Regions from separate parts of the Homo sapiens genome. Here regions 1, 2, 4 and 5 are each linked to region 3. The links are contacts of gene promoters, found by promoter capture Hi-C in human tissues and cell types (Jung and others, 2019). All regions are on one chromosome and are shown on one strand. Each heading gives the region's core, a stretch centred on a gene start or on the middle of the fragment in contact. The rest is flanking DNA. Distances are from core to core; before and after follow the strand shown. Region 1 holds the start of MMP24 (matrix metallopeptidase 24). Region 2 overlaps MMP24-AS1-EDEM2 (MMP24-AS1-EDEM2 readthrough). Region 3 holds the start of UQCC1 (ubiquinol-cytochrome c reductase complex assembly factor 1). Region 4 overlaps CPNE1 (copine 1). Region 5 overlaps MMP24-AS1-EDEM2 (MMP24-AS1-EDEM2 readthrough).

Evidence for each region. Contacts are between HindIII fragments. The study calls those that stand out against the background at their distance.
Region 1: the fragment with the promoter of MMP24 here is called in contact with the fragment with the promoter of UQCC1 in region 3 in 3 of the 25 tissues and cell types used here (IMR-90 fibroblasts, aorta and mesenchymal stem cells).
Region 2: a contact is called between a fragment that was not itself captured here and the fragment with the promoter of UQCC1 in region 3, in 2 of the 25 tissues and cell types used here (aorta and lymphoblastoid cells).
Region 4: a fragment that was not itself captured here is called in contact with the fragment with the promoter of UQCC1 in region 3 in 1 of the 25 tissues and cell types used here (hippocampus).
Region 5: a fragment that was not itself captured here is called in contact with the fragment with the promoter of UQCC1 in region 3 in 6 of the 25 tissues and cell types used here (aorta, bladder, dorsolateral prefrontal cortex and 3 more).

The regions. Positions count from the first base shown.
Region 1 is chr20:35,225,346-35,228,045 of GRCh38, reverse strand. MMP24 (matrix metallopeptidase 24) reads right to left here and starts at 1,356. Exons shown (of 9, transcript NM_006690.4): 1 at 1,062-1,356. The coding sequence starts at 1,307. The region is part of intron 3 of MMP24-AS1-EDEM2 (MMP24-AS1-EDEM2 readthrough); the gene reads left to right. The HindIII fragment of the contact is 20,114 bases long and covers 1-2,700 here.
Region 2 is chr20:35,191,016-35,193,715 of GRCh38, reverse strand. The region is part of intron 4 of MMP24-AS1-EDEM2 (MMP24-AS1-EDEM2 readthrough); the gene reads left to right. It also overlaps a transcript of PROCR not described here. Among named protein-coding and RNA genes, the nearest start is that of PROCR, 20 kb to the right of the region's middle. The HindIII fragment of the contact is 4,534 bases long and covers 1-2,700 here.
Region 3 is chr20:35,410,644-35,413,355 of GRCh38, reverse strand. It overlaps UQCC1 (ubiquinol-cytochrome c reductase complex assembly factor 1), which reads left to right and starts at 1,383. Exons shown (of 10, transcript NM_018244.5): 1 at 1,383-1,416. The coding sequence starts at 1,393. RefSeq lists enhancers at 1,148-1,197, 405-1,227, 1,328-1,477, 1,538-1,637, 1,228-2,051. The HindIII fragment of the contact is 20,339 bases long and covers 1-2,712 here.
Region 4 is chr20:35,652,012-35,654,711 of GRCh38, reverse strand. The region is part of intron 1 of CPNE1 (copine 1); the gene reads left to right. It overlaps RBM12 (RNA binding motif protein 12), which reads left to right. Exons shown (of 3, transcript NM_006047.6): 3 at 1-2,700. The coding sequence ends at 2,188. Among named protein-coding and RNA genes, the nearest start is that of CPNE1, 12 kb to the left of the region's middle. The HindIII fragment of the contact is 4,724 bases long and covers 1-2,700 here.
Region 5 is chr20:35,258,165-35,260,864 of GRCh38, reverse strand. All of the region lies in intron 2 of MMP24-AS1-EDEM2 (MMP24-AS1-EDEM2 readthrough), which reads left to right. All of the region lies in intron 4 of MMP24 (matrix metallopeptidase 24), which reads right to left. Among named protein-coding and RNA genes, the nearest start is that of MMP24-AS1-EDEM2, 19 kb to the left of the region's middle. The HindIII fragment of the contact is 5,720 bases long and covers 1-2,700 here.

The DNA.
Region 1 (2,700 bases), core at 107-2,606, 190 kb after region 3:
GCAAAACACCATTGTCCCAACATCATTTATTAGAATATTGCAGTCCTCTAGGTTGGAAGATACTAGAGAAATTAGTCCAACTGCACCCCCCATGAGATATAGGATAAGGTCATGGGTAAATAAGGGGAGACTAGAGTCAGCCTGCCTAGGTTAGAATTCCAATTCCATCACTCACTAGCTGTGTGACCTTGGGCAAGTTACTTAAGCTCTTTGAGTCTGTATCCCCATCTGTAAAATGGGGATAATAATTGCAGCTATTTCATAGAGTAGTTATGAGGATTGAATTGGATAATTCGTATAAAACATAGCACCAGGCCTGGCACATAGTGAGTGTTCAGTAAATGCTAGCTGGCATTATTGTGATGATGATGTATGCATCCATGCAAGCATTATGCATGCCTCCATCCAATCCCCTCCGAGAGCTTTTACTTGCACATGCCAGTGATGAGCAGCTCGCCGCCTCCTAAGCTGGTTGAGCAGCTCCAATTGTTACAAACTTCTTCCTATATCGAGCCCAAATTTGTCTTCTTGCAACCCCCACTCCCGCTGGCCCTAGTTCTGCCCTGTGGGGCCAAGCTAGAACAAGTCTATCCTACCTCCACCTGACAGCCCTTCAGCTACGAAGACAGTGATCGAGTCCTTCCTCCGCCCTCCCCCTCCCCCTTCTCCAGCTTGAACATCCTCGGTTTCTTCTCCCAACCCACAACAGACTGGCTGCGCTTACTATTTACTCCGAGGCGTTGTACGGTTTCCCTCGCACATAGTCATGCAGGCCACACACCCCACTGCCAACACAACAAACCCGACCCTCGTGCTCGGCCCCCGCCCGCTGCCCCTGTCCGCGGTGCTGAAGCAGCTCCCGGCCTCGGCGGCCCTCGGCGAGGCCCTCCCCAGCCCCCGCCCTGGGCCGCGCCAGCCCGGACCCAAGGCGCGGACCCCCGGCGCGCCGCCTCCGCGACCTCGGCAGTAGGTGCGGCCCGGCCCAGGCCCGTCCCCGGTGCCGCCCCCCGCCCTGCCCGGATGCCCCGAGCCCGCGCCCCGGCCCCGCGCGCCAGCCCCACCTGCCCGGCGAAGGGCGCCTCCGCCTCGTCCGCCCGCGCCACCGCCACCGCCACCGCTGCCCGGTTCCCTGCCCCCGCCGCCGCCGCCGCCGCCCGCGCGGCGCCCGGGAGGCAGCAGAGCGCGGGCAGCAGCAGCAGCAGCAGCCGCCCAGGGACCCGCCAGCGGCTCCAGCGCGGGGCCTGGCCCGGCGGCGGCGGCGGCGGCGGCGGCCCCGGCGCGGCGCGGCCGCCCCGGCTCCTCGGCATCCCGGCGGCGGGGCCCGCGCCCGGCCCGCCTGCCTTCGCCGCCGCCGCCGCCGCCTCGGCCGCCAGCGCGCCCCCGCCTCCGCGCGCCCCGCCCCGGTGGGGGGCGGCCGGGGGCGCGGGGGCAGCACCCGGGCGGGACCTGCGAGGGCAGTGGCTCCCCGACCAGCCCTGGGGCAGGGGCCGCGGAGCGGCGCTGGGGAGGGGGTTGCAGAGGCTAAAAGAACAGTTCTAGAGGCAGGGTCCGAAGGGGTGGAACTGGAGGTCGGGGTCTGGGGGTAGCCCTGAGCAGGAGGGGGAAGAGGCTAAATCAGTAATCCTGGAGGTAGAACAACTGGATGGCCCTGGGGGAACATATCCGGGGTTGGGGGTCCGGAACCCTGGGGAGAGGGTCCTAGGGAGTGGCATTGGAGGAGAGGGGGCCTGAGAGGCAGCCTGGGGGAGGAGACTGAGGAGCGGCTCTGGGGTAAAGGCGGGGTTCGAGAGCAAGCTAAAGAAATAGCCCTGGGTCTGAGAGGGTGACTCCGGAGAGGGAGCTCTGAGTGGCTCTCCTGGGCCGGGGTGGTGGGGGAAAGGGGTAGAGAAGACCTGAGGAGCGTTTAAGAGGGGGCATTCCTGTGAGACATTAGGTGAAGTTGAGGTGAAGCTCAGTCCCTCACCCCTAGAGGGAAAGAGCTCATCCAGCTGGGAAGATCATCTTTCATCCAAAACAACCCATATTTATCAAGCGCTTTCTATTTGTAGGGCTCTGGGCTACTTGGGATGCTGAAAGGAAAAAAAAAAACACCCAAAAACAAAAACAAAAAAGAGAAGGCCGATTTCCTGGAGTGCAGAGGTTTACAGCTTGATGAGAAAACATAAACGCAAAGAAAAACAGAATGGCAAACACCACGTGTCAACAAGGATACAGGCGGCTGCTCCAGGGGTCGAGGGAGACCTGATGAGGGGCTGGGGAAGTTAGGAAAAAGTGTAATGGAGGAGGGTGGGACTCTAGCTAGGACCTGAAGGAAAGGCTGGATTTAAACCAGGGGAGGGGAGAGGAGAGGGCATTTCAGGGAGGAAGTTGAGGGTGTACAGGATGTGCCTGAGGCGGCAGATAAGTTTCTCTGGAGCACAGGGTTCCTATAGGAAAGTGTTGGGAAGTGAGGGAAGTTGTACAAGACAGTGAATGCTAGGATAATAAATTTGGGTTGTGTTCTGAAGGAAAATGGGGGAGGGTGGTCATTAAAGGTTGTGTGTGTGTGGTGTGTGTGTGTGTATGTGTGTGTTTAAGCAGGATGATGTGTGAAAATAGTATTTTATGATTACGTGGTAATTTGGAGATGAAAAAAGGGCACAGGCTTTAGCGTCAGACCTATGTTCATATCTTGGCTCTGTTCCATTTTTATAAAATGAT
Region 2 (2,700 bases), core at 1-2,500, 220 kb after region 3:
TACATAATGAATGCATTTCCCACCAAAACCTGCTTCTTCTATAGCTTCCCCATTTCAATAAATGTCAATTATAGCCTCCAGTTGCACAGATCAAAACCTCTGAGTCATTCCTTTGTAATGTAAACTTTATTGAGGCATAACACTGATACAGGAAAGTGCTCAAATTATAAATGTACAACTTAGTGAATGTTCACAAAGTGAGCCTATTGATATAGCCAGCATCCAGATTAAGAAACAGGGCAGGCCAGGTGCGGTGGCTCATGCCTGTAATCCCAGCACTCTGGGAGGCTGAGGCAGGCAGATCACGAGGTCAAGAGATCAAGACCATCCTGGCCAACACAGTGAAACCCCGTCTCTACTAAAAGTACAAAAATTAGCTGGGCGTGGTGGCATGCGCCTGTAGGCCCAACTACTCGGGGGGCTGTGGCAGGAGAATGGCTTGAACCTGGGAGGTGGAGGTTGCAGTGAGCCGAGATTGCGCCACTACACTCCAGCCTGGTGACAGAGCGAGACTCCATCTTAAAAAAAAAAAAAAAAGAAAGAAAGAAACAGGGCATTGCCTCAGAAGCCCTCATGTCTCCCTTCTAATCATTAGCTTCCCAAATGTAACCAATATCCTGGCTTCTAACACCACAGGTTAGTTCTGTGTGTCTTTGAAATTTATATAAATGTAATCATATAGTTTATACTTTTTTGTGTTTGGCTTCTTTTGATCAATATTATATTTGTGACATTCACTTATATTAAGACTTGTAGTTTAAGTTTTTCTACTCTCGTTGTATATTCCATTATGTAAATATAGTATAATTTGTTTCATTATTCTATTCTTGATGGTGTTTGGGTACTTTTTAGTTGGGGATATTACAAAGAATACTGCTATTGACAGAGCAGGAGCACTGTCATCTCGAACAAACACTGCCACTTTAAGTTCCAGCTCCCTTTCTAGCCTCGTGCATTTCAAGGAAATCACTCTCTTCTAAGTACAAATAGAAAGAGCAGACAGTAAAACATAGATAAGACAGCTTGGGTACAGAGGGAGGTGGGGGGAAAGTCTCCTGGGTAACTGCCAAACTTCACCCTCATACGATGGCTCCCAGTAAAACAGTAGGCCCTAATAAGCACATTCCTTTCCCTTCAGGTGCACTAAGATAGGGAAGCTAAAAGCAACCCGGGGGATATGCCTGCAGCTGCAGAAAGATGTATGGGAACAGACACACAACTTTCCCTCCCAGATAAGCACAACAAAGAAACACAGAAGCAGTCCAAGCCTCTGATAAATTCTCCCACCCTGAATCCTTAAAAACACTTAGTCTGTAAGAGAGTGTGGCTCTGACCTAACTTGGCCAGCTGCCCCACTCAAGTTTATTCAGAATAAACCTGTCCCTGTTGACTGTCGAGCCGCCCTTCGTGTTTCTCTCTTCTTTCTTTAATTCTTACAGCTATGACTAATCTTGTATATGTCTTTCAGTGAACATAGGTAAACGTTTCTGTTAGGCATATGCCTAGGAGGCAGATGTTCAACTTTAGTAGATACTGCGGTTTTCTAAACAGTGGTTGTTTCATATCAATTTACCTTACCAACAGCAGTGTAGGAAAGTTCTAATTGGCCTGTATCCTTGCCAATACTGTCTTTTCTTTCCTTCCTTGTTTGTCTTTTTCTTTCTGACTATTCTGATGGGTAATGGGTAAGTAGTGGTATCACCCTTGTCCTTGCCACCATCATTTTTCACCCATATTATTGCCTCCTAACAGGAATGTATGAGTATCCTTGGAGGTCCCTGAGTATTTCTTTGCCTTTTAAACTTTGTTTCCCCCCATGGTAGCCATAGTGATGCTTTTCAAATGCAAGTCAAATCACGTCAGTCCTCTTCTCGAAAGCCTCCAATGCCTTTCCATCTCACTCAGAACAAATAGCAAAGTACAGATAATTGGCTTATTAGGCCCTCGGTTATTTGCCTCCTGCTCTTTCTCTTCTCTTTGCCTGTACCACTTCAGATAAACTGGCCTCCTTGTTCATGAAATAAACCAAGCTTACTCCTCAGAGCTTTTGCACTTGTTCGGTCTATCTAAATTGGCTTGTTCTTCCCCTGGCCACTCTTGCACTTCCTTCATATCTCTGCTCAACTGTCATCTTATTCCAGAGGCCTGCCCTGATTATGCTGTCTAAAACAGCAACTCAGTTATTCTCCCTTCGACCTTCCTTATTTTTCTACCTATTTCCTACTAATTATCTCTGACATTAAAAAAAAATTATTTGTTTAGGGTCTGTCCCTCCCAGTAAACTGTAGCTTCTAAGACAGACTTTGTTTTTGTTCTCTGCTATATTGCTCTATTCCCACGTCCTAAAACAGCGTCTGAACCATAGAAGTCACTCAATAATTTTCTTTTTCTTATTTAGTAATTCTAGTGACCCGACTCAATAAATTTTTTTAAATAAATGCATGAGAAATTGACAAATTGTAACAAGTCCAGAAGAACAATAGCAGGTTACTGAACTGCCACATCAAATAAGGAACCCTTGAAGAAAGTAAGATGTTTAATCTGGAGAAGAAAAGATTGCTGGGCACGGTGGTTCACAGCCTGTAATCCCAGCACTTTGGGATGCTGAGGTAGGTGGATCATGAGGTCAAGAGATCGAGACCATCCTGGCCAACATGGTGAAACCCTGTCTCTACTAAAAATATGAAAATTAGCTGGGCC
Region 3 (2,712 bases), core at 134-2,633:
CAGCACATAGGGAAGACTCAATAGGTCTTTGTTGACTGAATGAAATGAAAGAAGTCCTTCAACATCCTGCCCCTCTGCTCCCTCAACCCCCAAAGCACCAGTACTTTGTCTTCTCTTCTCTTGGGATGTAATGGAAGAGGAGTCTTCTACCAAGGCCGTTCTCTGCCACTTTCCTCAAGAAGCTCCTTGCCTCTTTGATTGATTCTCCTGTATACTCTTTTTTTTTTTTTTTTTTTGAGACGGAGTCTCGCTTTGTCACCCAGGCTGGAGTTCAGTGCCCCAGTCTCAGCTCACTGCAACCTCTGCCTCCCGGGTTCAAGCGATTCCCTGCCTCAGCCTCCCAAGTAGCTGGGATTACAGGCACACGCCACCATGCCCGGCTAATTTTTTTCGTATTTTCAGTAGAGACGGGGTTTCACCATATTGGTCAGGCTGGTCTTGAACTCCTGACCTCAGGCAATCCACCTGCCTCGGCCTCCCAAAGTGTTGGGATTACAGGCATGAGCCACCGGGCACGGCCCTGTATACTCTTCACTAATCTTTTCCTATCAATATGCAAAGATGTTTCCCTTAAACAACCAACCAACCACAAATCCCAAAAGTTTCTTCCTCTACCAGGCTTCAGATCGGCACATGACCGCCTTCTTGCCTTGACTTTCAGGAGTCTGGTATCCCCCGTATTCTTTTATCTTAGCCTCCTTCTCTGGCTTTTTTTTTTTTTTTTTTTTTTTTTTTTTTGAGACAGAGTCCAGTCCTGCTCTGTCGCCCAGGCTGGAGTGCAGTGGCGCGATCTCGGCTCACTGCAACCTCTGCCTTCAGAGTAGCTGGGATTACAGGCACACACCAACATGCCCGGCTACTTTCTTTGTATTTTTAGTTAGGGACGGGGTTTTGCCATGTTGGCCAGGCTAGTCTCGAACTCCTGATCTCAGGTGATCCGCCCGCCTCGGCCTCCCAAAGTGCTGGGATTACAGGCGTGAGCCACCGCGCCCGGTCTTCTGGCTCTTTCTAAAGATTGGGATTTCCTAAAGTCCTGTTCTTTTCAACCTCCATTGAAAAGTGTTGGGGTGGAGTTTGGGAAGGAGGGGCTGAGGAGTGAGGCTGGGTTAGGTGGGGAATAAAGAGAGGGATATGAGAAGCCCCGAGGTCTGGGGTCAAGGAGACAGGCGTGGGGGAAGGATTTGAACCACTGTTACGTGTAGTGGGGGAGACAGCAGGGAGAGCGTGCCCGGGCACGACAGCCTGGTGCACAGCCGAGAAAACAACAGCGCGTGCGCGTAGCGACCTCTTTGCGCCTGCGCCCCCCTTGCCAGTCTTTCGCCGGCAAAAGGAGGACGTAGAAAAGGGGACACCGGAAACTCACTCTTCACCCGGAAATGGTTATTGAGGAACATGGCGTTGCTGGTGCGAGTCCTTGTGAGTGAAGGAGTAATTTTCTACGGTAGCTCTCTGGGTCCCGGGTTGGAGTTCGACAAGGCAGGGCGGGAGGAATTGGAAGGAATCGCAGGAGGGAAGCCTGTGTTATAGCTAGGCTGAGTGGCCGCTTTTCCGTGGGGAAACTGAGGCAGCTTCCGACCTCTTCCTACCCCGTTTTGACCTTAGCTCCCCCATCTTTCGAGAAGGGGAAGACTGACATCTGGCCTTTATTTGATGGGGTTTACTTTTCCTTCCCTCCCCCATGTACCTGCTTCCCCTCAGGGAGAGGAGCATGTAGGACACTGATTGGAGTTTCAGGAGGCCTGGGTTCTAGTCCCTGACTGTCACTGATGCATAGTGACTTTAAGCAAGTCACTTTTGGGCCTCATTGACCCTATGTGAAAAACGAGGACATTTATCTCCTGCAGTCCCTTTAGATTCTGAGATTCTCAGGGTTTCTTTCATAGGTAATAAGTCAGTTCTTAACTGTACAGTTAAGTGGAATATAGATTATTAGATTGAAAGCTGCGTGAGAATTGGAGTCATGTCTGTCTCCGTCGTTTTCACTTTGCCTAGCATGGTGTCTGGCACATCATAGGTGTTAAATGATTACTTGTTGAATAAATGAATGAAGTAAGGAAAGACTACCAGACTCTTTAGCACCCGTGTGTGAAACTACTGCACCTCTTGAGATTTAGTCCTGACCCTTCTAGCATACTCTTTTCTCTAGCAATTAAAGGAGAAAAGAAAGTGGCAGCAGAAAAAACGTTAGGATACAGAGCTTAGTTTTTAATCATGGAGGGATGGGAGAGTGTATAGTTTTAGCGAGTCTTCAAAAACTGGGTCAAAGACACTGTTTTTCATAGTAGACATGGTCTATTCCTGTGTCTAGGTAACTTCTGAATTGTTATTTTACATTTGTGTTTTTGATCTTTTTATATATGTCTTACAAGGACGACAGTTTTACTTCTTGTATTCCTTGCCAGCCTAGCAGAGTGAGGTACCCTCGACTGCTGTTCAGTAAATATTTATTTGTAGAGTAGCCCCTGTAACTGCCAGAAAGATTCACCTGGTGAAGTGATTGTTTGATTTCAGGCCAGAAATTGATTCAGAAATGAGGACTGCTGGGGAAATGGCAATTAGAATGTTCTGAATTTAGTGGTTTTTTTTTTTTTTTTTTTTTTAATCCTTCCCCTGCCACCCTTTAGGGTTTTGTTTTTTTTTTTTTTTTTTTTGAGGCAGAGTCTTGCTCTGTCGCCGAAGCTGGAGTGCAGTGGTGCCATCTCGGGCTCACTG
Region 4 (2,700 bases), core at 104-2,603, 240 kb before region 3:
CATTCCCCCAATTCCAGTTCCTCCTCCAGTACCTACATTGCCTCCTGTGCCTCCTGTGCCCCCGATTCCCCCAGTTCCTTCTGTGCCACCCATGACCCCACTGCCACCCATGTCGGGCATGCCGCCCTTGAATCCGCCACCTGTGGCACCTCTACCTGCTGGAATGAATGGCTCTGGAGCACCTATGAATTTGAACAATAATCTGAATCCTATGTTTCTTGGTCCGTTGAATCCTGTTAACCCTATCCAGATGAACTCTCAGAGCAGTGTGAAGCCACTCCCCATCAACCCTGATGATCTGTATGTCAGTGTGCATGGAATGCCCTTTTCTGCAATGGAAAATGATGTCAGAGATTTTTTTCATGGGCTCCGTGTTGATGCAGTGCATTTGTTGAAAGATCATGTAGGTCGAAATAATGGGAATGGATTGGTTAAGTTTCTCTCCCCTCAAGATACATTTGAAGCTTTGAAACGAAACAGAATGCTGATGATTCAACGCTATGTGGAAGTTAGCCCTGCCACAGAAAGACAGTGGGTAGCTGCTGGAGGCCATATCACTTTTAAGCAAAATATGGGACCTTCTGGACAAACTCATCCCCCTCCTCAGACACTTCCCAGGTCAAAATCGCCCAGTGGGCAGAAAAGATCAAGGTCAAGATCACCACATGAGGCTGGTTTTTGTGTTTACTTGAAAGGGCTACCATTTGAAGCAGAAAACAAACATGTCATTGATTTTTTTAAAAAGCTGGATATTGTGGAAGATAGTATTTATATAGCTTATGGACCCAATGGGAAAGCAACTGGCGAAGGCTTTGTAGAGTTCAGAAATGAGGCTGACTATAAGGCTGCTCTGTGTCGTCATAAACAGTACATGGGCAATCGCTTTATTCAAGTTCATCCAATTACTAAGAAAGGTATGCTAGAAAAGATAGATATGATTCGAAAAAGACTGCAGAACTTCAGCTATGACCAGAGGGAAATGATACTAAATCCAGAGGGGGATGTCAACTCTGCCAAAGTCTGTGCCCACATAACAAATATTCCATTCAGCATTACAAAGATGGATGTTCTTCAGTTCCTAGAAGGAATCCCAGTGGATGAAAATGCTGTACATGTTCTTGTTGATAACAATGGGCAAGGTCTAGGACAGGCATTGGTTCAGTTTAAAAATGAAGATGATGCACGTAAGTCTGAACGCTTACACCGTAAAAAACTTAATGGGAGAGAAGCTTTTGTTCATGTAGTTACCCTAGAAGATATGAGAGAGATTGAGAAAAATCCCCCTGCCCAAGGAAAAAAGGGATTAAAGATGCCTGTGCCAGGTAATCCTGCAGTTCCAGGAATGCCCAATGCGGGACTGCCCGGTGTGGGACTGCCCAGTGCAGGACTTCCCGGTGCAGGCCTGCCCAGCACAGGACTGCCTGGTTCAGCAATAACCAGTGCAGGACTGCCTGGTGCGGGAATGCCCAGTGCAGGAATACCTAGTGCAGGAGGTGAAGAGCATGCCTTCCTGACTGTAGGATCAAAGGAAGCCAATAATGGGCCTCCATTTAACTTTCCTGGTAATTTTGGTGGATCAAATGCCTTTGGGCCACCAATCCCTCCTCCAGGATTAGGAGGCGGGGCCTTTGGTGATGCTAGGCCTGGTATGCCTTCAGTTGGAAACAGTGGTTTGCCTGGTCTAGGACTGGATGTTCCGGGTTTTGGAGGTGGACCAAACAATTTAAGTGGGCCATCGGGATTTGGAGGGGGCCCTCAGAATTTTGGAAATGGCCCTGGTAGCTTAGGCGGTCCCCCGGGGTTTGGAAGTGGCCCTCCTGGTCTTGGAAGTGCCCCTGGGCATTTGGGTGGGCCACCAGCTTTTGGGCCTGGCCCCGGCCCCGGCCCCGGCCCTGGCCCAATCCATATTGGTGGTCCCCCTGGCTTTGCATCTAGTTCTGGAAAACCAGGACCGACAGTAATTAAAGTGCAAAACATGCCCTTTACTGTGTCTATTGATGAGATTTTAGATTTCTTTTATGGCTATCAAGTAATCCCAGGCTCAGTGTGTTTAAAATACAATGAAAAAGGTATGCCCACAGGTGAAGCCATGGTGGCCTTTGAGTCTCGGGATGAAGCCACAGCTGCTGTCATTGACTTAAATGACAGGCCTATAGGTTCAAGAAAAGTAAAACTTGTATTAGGGTAGCCATTCACATCATTTTTTATAGGGTAGATCTTCATATTGCTGTGATTAATGCATCCAGATTGTTTTCCTAGTATTTCCAGGTTAGAACCTGTGGATTGTTTCAATTGCATATAGCTTGGTTTCCATAACATAGAGCATTGGTTGACTGTTTACAGAAGACTCACTCACCAGGATAAACATTGCTGTATGTTACAGTAAAGCTATCTGGAGAGAACACATAAATGATTTTGGCATACCATTAGAGAAACCATTTGTAAAACTCAAATGACCACATAAAGCTTATCAAGGAGTCTAGATTGGTTTTGTTTTATACCATATGGGATGAAGAAAATAGAAATGTCAGTAGAACTCATTGAGGGTGCTCTTGCCAGCTGCTGAAAATAGAAGTTGGCTACTCTCAGAATTTGGTTTAAAGCTGGACAGATTTGCTTTGTTATAGGGTAAAGCTTTGTCTAAAGTCCTCATTTTCTTTTAAAATTGAATAAAATTTCTGTATACAGATTCATTGTATG
Region 5 (2,700 bases), core at 75-2,574, 150 kb after region 3:
AGGTCTCTGGAAGAGAGAAGAACCCCATGGGGCAGACCCAGGCCACGGGCAGTACATGCCTCCCACACTACTGACACCGCCAGTGTCTTCTGTGAAGCCACCTTTGAGCAACGGAAAGGAAGGGGGATGGGCAAGATCAGTGCAAGGTTGGCCAAAAGCCTGGGGCTGGCCTTCTGCTGGCATGAGAGGGCCAGGCCGCCCCCAGCTCCTTACTCAGGTCCTGGCCCCTCTGGCAGCAGGGAAGGGTGAGCTCATCGCTGAGCTCCATCCCAAACAAACTGGTAGAGCCAGCGGAAGGCAGCTCTGCTTCCTGGGGTCCAGTCCTGGCTGTGCTCCTGGGCTATTCTATGACCTGGGACAAGCTGTTCAGGGCCTCTGTCTCCTGAGCAGGCTCTTCCCCAGGGGCTGTCCACAGGGAGCTCAGCTGGGAACCAGGGAACACGGCTCTGAGCACTGTGGGAGACTCAAAACCTTTGTCCGCAGCCTTGTCTCTTGCTCTTTTAACCCCTGTTCTGGGTCTGCAGAGAACAGGAGTGACCCCTTAAAGGAAAGAGGCCTGTGGTTTGGGTCCAGGAACCAAAAGGAAGGGAAGAGCGAGGGAGCCAGTATCCTGCTGCACAGAAACCCAAGAGAGCCCTGAGGGGGAGACAGAGGGAGCAGGGCAGGGGCAGGAGGACTCCCTGAGCTTGTGAGGTGAAGGCAGAGGTATGAGGAGGAGAGGCCTGCTATGAGGACCCCATGCTCCATGGGCAGGAGGCTGCTAGGGTCTTCACTCTTCAAGAGGGTGAGCGGCAGGGAAGCAGAGTGGTCAGGAATGCAGTCTCTGGGAGCCAGACTGCCTGGTTTTGAATCCCAGCTCTGCCATGTCCTAGCAGTGTGACATTTTAAATTCTTCCTCTGGAAGATAGAAGGAACAATGGCACCTTCGTCATAGGGATGTGGGTGAAGATTCATGGGGCAGGGTGTGTAATGCGCTGATACCAGCTCCTGGTACAGAAGTATTACCCTTCATTAGCAGGGTCCTGTTGAGCTGTGTGTGAGCACCAGCACCCCTGATAGGGTGTGTTCCTGTAAGTCCCTGGGCCTCCGAGCAAGTCCCCAGCAGTCTACTCGGCTACTCAAGTGGACCTTGTCTCTGCCTCATTTCTTTCTTTTAGGATCTCCATATTTGGTCGTTCCCATCTCATTAACTCCCCCAGCCCCACGAAAGGTGATAGCATTTCCCTTTGCCTCTGTTCTTCTGCCAGTGCTGCCCCTTCCCCTGGAATAACCTGATTCCTTCAAAGTTCAGCTCCATGCCTGTCTTCCAGGAAGCCTTCCATGACTTCCCAGCTGGCAGTGAGTGCTCCTTCTGCTGTGCCCTCCCAGCAGTTTCCCTGAACTGCCTTTATGGCACTGACCGCTTCCTCCCCACGTGATTGCCACTAGTGCACATGCTCGCTGCCCCAGGACTGTGGGTTCCTTGAGGACAAGCTTTGTGTTGAAGAACCAGGTGACAGCCCCCGGAATGGAACAGCGCCAAAAGCACCGTATTTTACCAAGGGAAATACTCGGACCACCTGCAGCAGAACCACCTGTGGTGACTTAAAAATGCGGAGTCCTGGGGTCACACCTGGCTCTGCCACTTTCCAAAGGGGTGAATTTCCTATTTTTTTAAAAAGTATTTTCTTTCTTTTTTATTTTTGAGACAGGATCTCACTCTGTCACCCAGGTTGGAGTGTAGTGGTGCAATCTCGGCTCACTTGAACCTCCGCCTCCCGGGTTCAAGCCATTCTCCTGCCTCAGCCTCCCGAGTAGCTGGGATTACAGGCATGTGCCACCACACCCGGCTAATTTTTGTATTTTTAGTAGAGACGGGGTTTTGCCATGTTGGCCAGGCTGGTCTCGAACTCCTGACCTCAGGTGATCTGCCCCCCCTCGGCCTCCCAAAGTGCTGGGATTACTCCAGTGCTCCCATCGCACCTGGCCCGGGGAGCCTTTTAAACACATGGAGGAGGTGGGGAAGATATTCTGATTCAGGAGGTTTGGTTTGGGACGTAGGCAATCTTTTTTGTTGTTTTTTTTTTTTAAGTTCTCCAGGTGAATTGTATAATGGTTGGGTCAGGCTGACACAACCTGAAGCAAATGCTCGACCTCAACATCACTAAAAGTGGGACAGTCTGCATCATATGTATTTGCTAATATGGTGAATAGGAAGTACCAGCACCACCTAGGAAGTATTCTTGCCAAAAAAATTGAACTTGAATCTAGTCAGCCTGTAAATCTAATGAACAACATTCAGGAATTATGGGCAAGAGAGACGTATTAAAAGTAAACTTGATTCTAGTCACGCCAAATGATTATACTCGGGACACCTGACCCAGTTTCTTCAACAAATATATGGAGGGAAACGTGTGTGTAGGACGGGGGTGTTTTAAATAAAAAGGGCTTTAAGAGACATGTCAGCCATGTGTGTGTGGATCTTGTTTGGATCCTGATTCAAGCAAACAACTGTAAAAGACATTTCCAAGGTACTTTGGGAAAGTGAACTCGAACTGGGTATTAGATTTTAAAAAATTATTGTTAATTTTGTTGGGCTTGATAATGATTGTGTGCTTATGTTAAAAATTAGCCTTTATCTGTTAGAGGTATATACTAAAGTATTTAAAGGTGAAATGTTAGAATGCCTGAGATTTTCTTTAAAATACATCAGCCAAAAAA